Linked DNA regions of Homo sapiens: all the other regions are linked to region 3. The links are contacts of gene promoters, found by promoter capture Hi-C in blood cells and fetal thymus (Javierre and others, 2016). All regions are on one chromosome and are shown on one strand. The core of a region is centred on a gene start or on the middle of the fragment in contact, and the rest is flanking DNA. Distances in the headings are between cores, read along the strand shown. Region 1 overlaps BMPR1B (bone morphogenetic protein receptor type 1B). Region 2 overlaps BMPR1B (bone morphogenetic protein receptor type 1B). Region 3 holds the start of BMPR1B (bone morphogenetic protein receptor type 1B).

The links. The method cuts DNA at HindIII sites, captures the fragments that hold promoters and counts their contacts. A CHiCAGO score of 5 or more calls a contact.
Region 1: a fragment that was not itself captured here is called in contact with the fragment with the promoter of BMPR1B in region 3 in 1 of 17 cell types (fetal thymus); the score reaches 7.8 in fetal thymus.
Region 2: a fragment that was not itself captured here is called in contact with the fragment with the promoter of BMPR1B in region 3 in 1 of 17 cell types (fetal thymus); the score reaches 5.6 in fetal thymus.

The regions. Positions count from the first base shown.
Region 1 is chr4:95,074,582-95,077,281 of GRCh38, reverse strand. The region is part of intron 3 of BMPR1B (bone morphogenetic protein receptor type 1B); the gene reads right to left. Among named protein-coding and RNA genes, the nearest start is that of BMPR1B, 320 kb to the right of the region's middle. The HindIII fragment of the contact is 9,640 bases long and covers 1-2,700 here.
Region 2 is chr4:95,055,200-95,057,899 of GRCh38, reverse strand. All of the region lies in intron 3 of BMPR1B (bone morphogenetic protein receptor type 1B), which reads right to left. Among named protein-coding and RNA genes, the nearest start is that of BMPR1B, 300 kb to the right of the region's middle. The HindIII fragment of the contact is 915 bases long and covers 846-1,760 here.
Region 3 is chr4:94,756,587-94,759,286 of GRCh38, reverse strand. BMPR1B (bone morphogenetic protein receptor type 1B) reads right to left here and starts at 1,332. Exons shown (of 13, transcript NM_001203.3): 1 at 1,219-1,332. BMPR1B-DT (BMPR1B divergent transcript) reads left to right here and starts at 1,754. Exons shown (of 3, transcript NR_121610.1): 1 at 1,754-1,893. The HindIII fragment of the contact is 4,388 bases long and covers 1-2,700 here.

The sequences.
Region 1 (2,700 bases), core at 69-2,568, 320 kb before region 3:
TTACTGTTTTACCAAATCACTCCATAATAGTAATAATACTACATCACCATCAGCCGGTGTATGTACATTTGATTTCTCTTTTTCCCAGTAGGAAGGATAGGTTTTCCTATGTCTTCCGTGTTCCATTACTACAAAATACAAGCTATTGGCTGGAGTCTTTCCTTTCTCCTACCGTTATACCTGTCCCTAACCAATGTTACTGTAATACTCTCTGATCTCCTTCCCATTTCTATCATCTAGTGTTTGCACTGCTGCCTTCTAAAGACAACACACGTGCATATGCTTGTAAAGCGAATAAAGTAAAGCAAATAAAAATCTCTAACAGTTCTAAGGTTCTTAGGAAGGCATTCAATGTTCTTCATGAACTGATTCAATCTTCCATTCCAGCTTCATCTTCTACTATAGTCTGCTCCCTATCCATACCTTATTCTAATTAGATGTACCATGTTTTTGTATTCCCATGTTTTTGCTTATAATTCTGATTGTGTTTCTTTTTTAACGTTTCCACAGAACTTTACTGTGTTATATATTTTACTCTACCTTAGTTGCACACACATGTTCTGGCCTACCAACTACCTCCCTCTTATTCCAAGTAGCATAATTTATTTACATATGAGTCACTCCACTGATTACTTGGATAATTAGCTGTGTGACCTCAGACAATTTACTTAACCTCCATGAACTTTCATTTCCTCATCTGTAAAATGAAGATGATAATAATACTTATATATGTAAAATGCTTTTAGTACCTAGAACAGTTTGCCTCATATAAGTGTGAGCAATTTATATACTACTATTAGCTACAATCTTCAAAAACTTCATTGTTTGATGTTAACTGGCTCACATATGCATCCAACTCTGATTTTCAGTCTTGCAAATTTTTGAAGAAAGACATTTAAATTTCTAAGTATAAAGTATTTTTAAAGACTAGATTATAACTTTTCATAGTAGTTTTACATTAGCAAATACATACATTATTATAATGAACTAAAAAAGACAAGCTAACTATAGCATAAGACCAATCTCAAGTATAATACTAATAAAGTTGGAATGGATTCCTGCAGAGTACAAATTAAGCTCATCCCTCCCATCAAAGCATCAGTTCATCCTAAAATTTTACTACACATACAGTGAAATGAGGGTTGTAAGTCAAGTTAGGACTCTTGGGAAGAAATAAGCCTATTCACTGAACACTTCCATTTCTGCATACAATTTAGAAACTATTTTTGAATGTCTTCTGTACATTTTAGTATTTACACAAAAATATGCCTTGTTTTATAGTTACAGGATATTCATAGTTCAATGCCTGGGTCTTCTCTTCTTTCTCTCTTTGCACTAGACAAATTAACAAGTCTGATCCTTCAGCCCAACTAGAAAAAAAAAGAATGGACATCAGGCTTGTGAGAGTGGCTGGATGGAAGGGGAAAGAAAGCTATGGACAGAAGCCTTACAGTAATATAAACCAAAAGGCAGGCCAACTAGTACCACTGTATCTGAGTGCCTACTTGGAAACATGGAAATAACTGACTGTGTTCTATAAAGTATGAGAGACAGAATATGAAAATTCTCTCAAAAAATATGAGAGACAGAAGCCTTACGGTAATATAAACCAAAAGGCAGGCCAACTAGTACCACTGTATCTGAGTGCCTACTTGGAAACATGGAAATAATTGACTGTGTTCTACAAAGTCTTTCTACTCCAAACTGAGGACTATATGGGTAAGAATTATAAAGGCAAATTAAACAACAATCAAAACTGGGCATAAACACTCAAGTACACAATGGCTATTAAATGATACAGGATTATATTCTTTCATTAGCATCATACTACTAATACTATTAATATATCGTCTACATACAACATGTGAAAATAAAGTACCGCTATCATGCATCTAAAAAACAGACCAACAATAGATTCACTATTAACTGCCTAAAAATCATAAGTATAGCAGTCACTTTCCAATAGAAAATAATTATTAGAAGTGAATATTTACTAAGTTACTGTGAAACAGATCCAATACCTTTTATACAGACTCTGAGAAGAACAGATGGTGAAAACAGTAAAAATTCCAGTGGAAACTATGCCTAATTATTATTAAATTTATGAGGCTTGTCTTAAAGATAAGGTTTGAGTTAAATAACAGCTATCAGCACTTTAGAAAGACACATTTAATCTTAAGACCTACAGTGTGTAAAGCAGGATGGTAAATTACTTAAGAGTAAGTGGGATGTTCTTTAGAGGAATACATTTATCAACAAGACTACAAATTTTTGGTTTCCAGGTCAGTGCCTACTTCTGCAAATGTTAAGCCTCATGAAAAAAAGAAATATGCAGATGGATGCTTTACTTCTTTGCTCATCCCAAAACATACCTCTATTTCATATTTAAAATAATCATGAGCAGGCATGTAACTTTTCTGACTTTTCTATCTGATTTCAGGTCCAGGTATTTTTAAATTTCCATTACCAAACTCAGGTCCAGGTTTTTTTTTAATTTCCATTACTAAATAACAGTAATTTACCTAGAGTAGCAGCAAAAACAGCATAACTACTCTAGCTTCACAGTACTTTGTTTACTTTAGCAATTTTTCATTCATAAAAGACTGTGCTTTTGAAAGTGACTGAATATATATTTAGGCATCCTTATATTATTTGTATCATATTAGAACCAAGAGAACAGCTGCAGTCCAAGGTAGCTGG
Region 2 (2,700 bases), core at 54-2,553, 300 kb before region 3:
GTAACATTTGCTGAATTCTGAAGTTCAAGTGAGAAATATTAAAGTGTTTTTTAAAATAATTTTCAAAACATTTAGTTGATAAATAACTCATTTGCTAGCCAATATCAATTCACTACAAACAAAAGAGTCCTGGAAGTATTTATATTGCTATCATAAGTGACAAGAGTAGCCATGTTAAAGGTTTTTGATTGTCAATATAATCCAAACCCTCTTCTAGAAAAACCAGACAATAATAGACACTGTGAGCAGGTGCAGTTTTTCTAGAAAAGGGTTTGGATTACACTGGCAATCAAAAACCTTTAACATGGCTAGTAGGTTACCTTTGATTATTCTAAGGGTCCGCAGCCAATCAAATTCTCCCTCCAAAGAAATTAAAAATAAAAGTGCAGCACTTTGGGAGGCCAAGGCGGGTGGATCACAAGATCAAGAGATTGAGACCAACCTGGCCAACATGGTGAAACCCCGTCTCTACTAAAAATACAACAAAAATAGCTGGGCGTGGTGGCGTGTGCCTGTAGTCCCAGCGACTCGGGAGGCTGAGGCAGGAGAATCACTTGAACTCGGGAGGCGGAGGTTGCAGTGAGCCAAGATCACACCACTGCACTCCAGCCTGGTGACAGAGTGAGATTCTGTCTCAAAAAAAAAAAGTGAAACATCTGTCAGTTAACTCTGCAGAGCTAAGCAAAATGGTCTTGGAACATTAGGGACTGCAGCCACCATTTTGAGTCAAGCAAGAAACTATAAGTATGTCCAGGGACATAGATTCCTCTATACACCAAGCCTGTGCTATACACTCAAGACACAACAATAAATAAAATGGACAGAGTTTGTTCTTCTGAGAAGCTTAGCTTCCAGCAGGAGAGTGACATGTATAATGATAAATTATGATATGTACCATAAAGGAAAAATAAAACACAATGAGGGATTATATCAAAGGGGTTTCATTTAATTTAGATTGTTAAGGAAAACTTAACTAAATGGCACTTATGCAAATGCATGGATAAACAGAGTAGAAAGGCAAAGAACTTTCCAGACTGTGAAAACAGTATATGTGAAGTACCTGAGTGAGAAAAAGGTTGGATCATTTTTGTCTTGTTTTGTTTTGTTTTGTTTGTTTTCAGGCCTATATGGCTGATGCTCAGTAAGCAGTGAGATGAGCTGCAAGATGAGTCAGGAGCCAGCTGATATCAGACCTTTGCAGGACACAGAAAGATCTGGATTTTATCCTAAATACAAGGAGCGTCCATTAAAGAATTTTAAACAAAAAGAAAAGAAGGGAGCAGACGCACACAGCGAGAGTGGAACGTGCACAAGGCCCTCAGAGAGAGACAGACATAGACAAGGAGATGTTCCGGTCCTCCTGGCCTGCTGGGTCCCATGAGGCCTGTGTTTCCTTTAGTTTTTCTTTATGTCTCCATTAAACTTCTTTCTCTACTTAAGATTCTGTTCTTTATAACCAAAATATCAATACTATGATTTTATATAGTTAACTAATCATCAAAAGAATGTAACAGAGATAGTATCAAGCAGAGTAATCAGTTAATCCGGAAAGATATTTTCCAAGTTAAAAGAAACATGGAGAGGTCTAGAGTAAAAATAGAGTGCAAAGTCACAAGATCATCCTTATGTATTTTACTATTCACTTTTCCAAACCAACAAATATATATTAATATAGACAAAGTCTCTATTTTACAGATAACAAGTATAATAATCAAGACCAAAAGAGGCCATCTGGACCTAAAATGCAGCATAAGAAAGCTTCACAGAAAACTTAGCTGATTAAGATAATTGTTCTATAATTAGTTGTCAATATTTTCTCTTATTTGAGGATTTGTTCAAATTCTTATATGAATTCTAAAAATAGATATGCATTTGAAAAGTTGGGGGAAGAATTCATAGATTTATTCCTGGCAATTCTAAATCAATAAAAGATTTGTACAATGTTCTAAATCAATAAAATATCTGTCCAATGTTATTTCAGATTCAGTTGGCTTACAGAGAAAAAAGAAACTAATTTGAGTTATTTTGCTGTTCCAATGTTTTTTCAAAAGCCTTCATATATTTGTAATTTACAAGTTTGAATTATACTATGTACAGACATTTATACACAGATAAGACTTGCATACGGTTGCTAGCATTTTGAAAATAATAAAAAAAGGTGAAACCAAATAATTTCAGTCTGTACTTGGCAATTACGTGAAATTACTATCCAATCTAATGAGCAGAACTTAAGTTGAAAACTATAGTTTAGCCATTTTCTTCCCAGGTAAATTACCAGAGATCAAATTTCTTACATCTGTGATGCTCACCACAACTTGCAGTTACTGCCGATTAATAGCCTGAGATTAAGAAATGCCACAAAATAGCTGTAGTAGAAAACATTTTAAACACATAACCACATTTATGCATTTAACAGCTGTGTTGGTCTAACAGTTCAGATTTTCAGTATATTTTGCCATATGGTAATAAGGATCATTTTTCACTTAAAATATTACCAAAAACTGATGCCGCATAGCAATATTATCATTCTAATTGTGAAACTACCTATTCACAGCCATGTTTGTTATCCTCCTCTTACTGGATTCCCTATTTGCCCTGATTATACTAAAAAAAAATGTATAACCTATTTTTTGAATTTTAAATTAGTGTCAACTAGGCCAGACATAAATATGACAATAGGAAACCTATGGAATATGGCCT
Region 3 (2,700 bases), core at 83-2,582:
TAGTGAAACGGCTCTCTTCCTCCGTTGTCTTTCACTGGCACCTTTGTGGCCGCTCGTAGTCACTGACCTCACCTTGCTGGAAAGGTGGCTAAGAAAAGAGCAGTTTCTAATAACTCAAGGGAACTGCAGCGTTTCCATTCAGAACAAACAGCAGGACCCAGCTGGAGGGGTGCAGCTCTAAAGAAGTAAGACCCGCACCACAGCGGACAACTTCCAGAGGCTCTTCTCCAACACCGCCAAACACAGGCGGAAACACGGAGCCTGGACAGAAAGAGGGACGAGCAGAGAGATGGGCGCAGAGAGCAAGAGACAGGGGAGCCAGGAAGACCGGGAGCGAAAGCCTCTTGAGAGAGAGAGAGAGACCAAAAGATTGTGCGAAAGTGACAGAGGGAAGAGGATGAAGGGACAGAGGAGGGACACACTGGGAGAGCCAGAGCAGGCGGTGGGGAGAGGGAGACAGACGCACGGAAGGAAAGAGAGACCGGGGGGAGAGGCAAAGGATAGCAATAAGGAGAGGAAGGGAGAAAGGAAGAAAAGGGAGAGAATGAAAGACCCAGAACTTGAGAGAGAGGCATAGAGAGAGAGAAGCAGGAGAGAGAGGAGAAGAGACAGGCAACTGAAGCAGAGACGGAGCCCAGTCCAAGGCGCCGGGACCAGCCCGCTGCGCACTTTCCCCCACGGCAAGGCTGGGTCTCGGGAGGCGTCCGGGGCAGGTGGGTGCCTGCGGGTCCCGCCTGGGCTGGCCCTGGGCCCCCGCCCCGCCGGGCTCCCTCCCATTTCCCGGATTCCGCGACTGCCCTCAGCTCGCCCTCCCGCCCCATCCCTCCGCTCGCAGGTCCGACTCCCTGCCTTGGGGCGTCCCTACAGCCCGAAGCACGTGTCCCGCCCGCCGCCGCCGCTGCCCCGACTCCTCGCCTGCGCAGGCACGAGGCCTCGGGGTCCCGGCAGAGCCGCCCGCGCACAAAGCCGAGGCGGCCACCGCCTGACCCCCTCCCCGCCGCCGCCACCGCCCCACGGCCGCGCAGCCCGCCCTCGCTCTCGCCCTCTCCCTCGCGCGCTCCGTCCTGCCTAGGGCGACCGCCGCCCAGCTCCGCACCCAGCCGCTACCCGTCCCGCGCCGCCCCTCGCTCTGCCCGGCTCTCGCCGGCTCGGCCGCCTCCCGCGCGCTCGGGAACTCGGCCACCCGCAGGGGACGGGGCCCCGCCGCGCGCGCCTTACCCGCGGCTGCGCTCCCGGCTCCCGCGTCCTCAGCGCCGCGGTCTCCGCACTGCCCGGCGTCCCGCGAGGCCCCGCCGACTCCGCGCCCCGCGCCCGGCTGCGCCGTCAACTTCTGGCCGCCGCGGCCGCTCCGCCGCCGCCGCCGCCGCCACCGCGGGACTTTTTTTTTTTTTTTTTTTTTTTTTCCCTCTCGCTCCTCGGCTGCCTCTGGAATTTTTTTTTTTCACTTGCCCTCTCCAGCTCCCACTAGTGATTGGAGACTGAGAGCCAAGTACTTAGCGGAGGGATTACACTTCTCAACGCACTTGGAGCGGCCCCAGCGCCGCCGCCTGTGTGCGGAGTGCGGAGCCGACTTGGGGAGCGGCGGGGTGCGGGCCGGAGGCAGCCCGGGTACAGGGGTGCGCTTCCCAAGCCCCGTCCGCTGCTCAGAGCATCCCCAAGATTTCCCTCATGGGTCCTGTCCTGGTTGTTTAAGAAGGTTTCCAGAAAACCTCCTGGTTTGAAGAACAAAGATTCGTGGAATTATTGTACCTTGAGAGCTGGAAAGGGCTCGCAGAGATGATATAATGTCGTGGATTTCAACTTTTCGGGGCCATAGACACTTTTCAGAAATTGATAAAACGTTGACACACCTTGTAAAAAATGAACACATTAAAATTAAGCCTGCAGTTTGAGGTGGGGGTTTTAAGAATCTTGAAATATATACAGTTGAGCGTCCAAGGGAAATGAAATATTTCCCTTCTACATATTTTTTGAAACCGTTAAACGAAAACAACCACCAAAAAATTAAAAATAAAAAAATAAAACCCAAAAGAGAAAACCCATTCCATTTGTATTTGATGACAGTTTACAGTTAGTCGTGTTTCTTTTGGAAAAGTATGTAACGTCTTATACTTTGTGGTCTCCTTGCTAAGTCTTTAAGTGTTGAAACACTTTCTAAGTGGGTAAATATAAAGTAAGCTAGTTCACAGTCAGAAATTTGGGGAGAATAGTTAACCTCTTTAAAATCAGCCATTTTGCCAACTCTATTTCCCAGGGAGATATCTCGTGACTTCCAAATACTCTTTTCCTTTCAATACCTTTCAGCTTCCCACTCTCCAGCATTACTTATTTTCTCCTTCTGTAAAATTTTTTTCCTCCAAAATATTGACAAACAGTCTCTGGTCACCACCAAGTGTGTGATCTAAGTCATTTTTTTTTTTAACAGTTTTTCACCCTGAAGTAACTTTCTTCCAATTTTCTTCATATCTATTTCTATATTCAATTCTTAGCCTACTATTTTCTTTCAACTACTCCCTTTTCTTAAATTGTTTCTATTAAATCTTTTTTAAACATTAAATGTAATCTTTTTGCACTTATCAATAAAAAATTCATTTGTGTATCAATTTATTTTATGCAGCTTGCACTTAAAGCAGGCGGTGCCCCCAGTGTTTATTGAGTGTATGAAGATGTGGTCATGTTTTTTCTATAAAAGCAATGTTA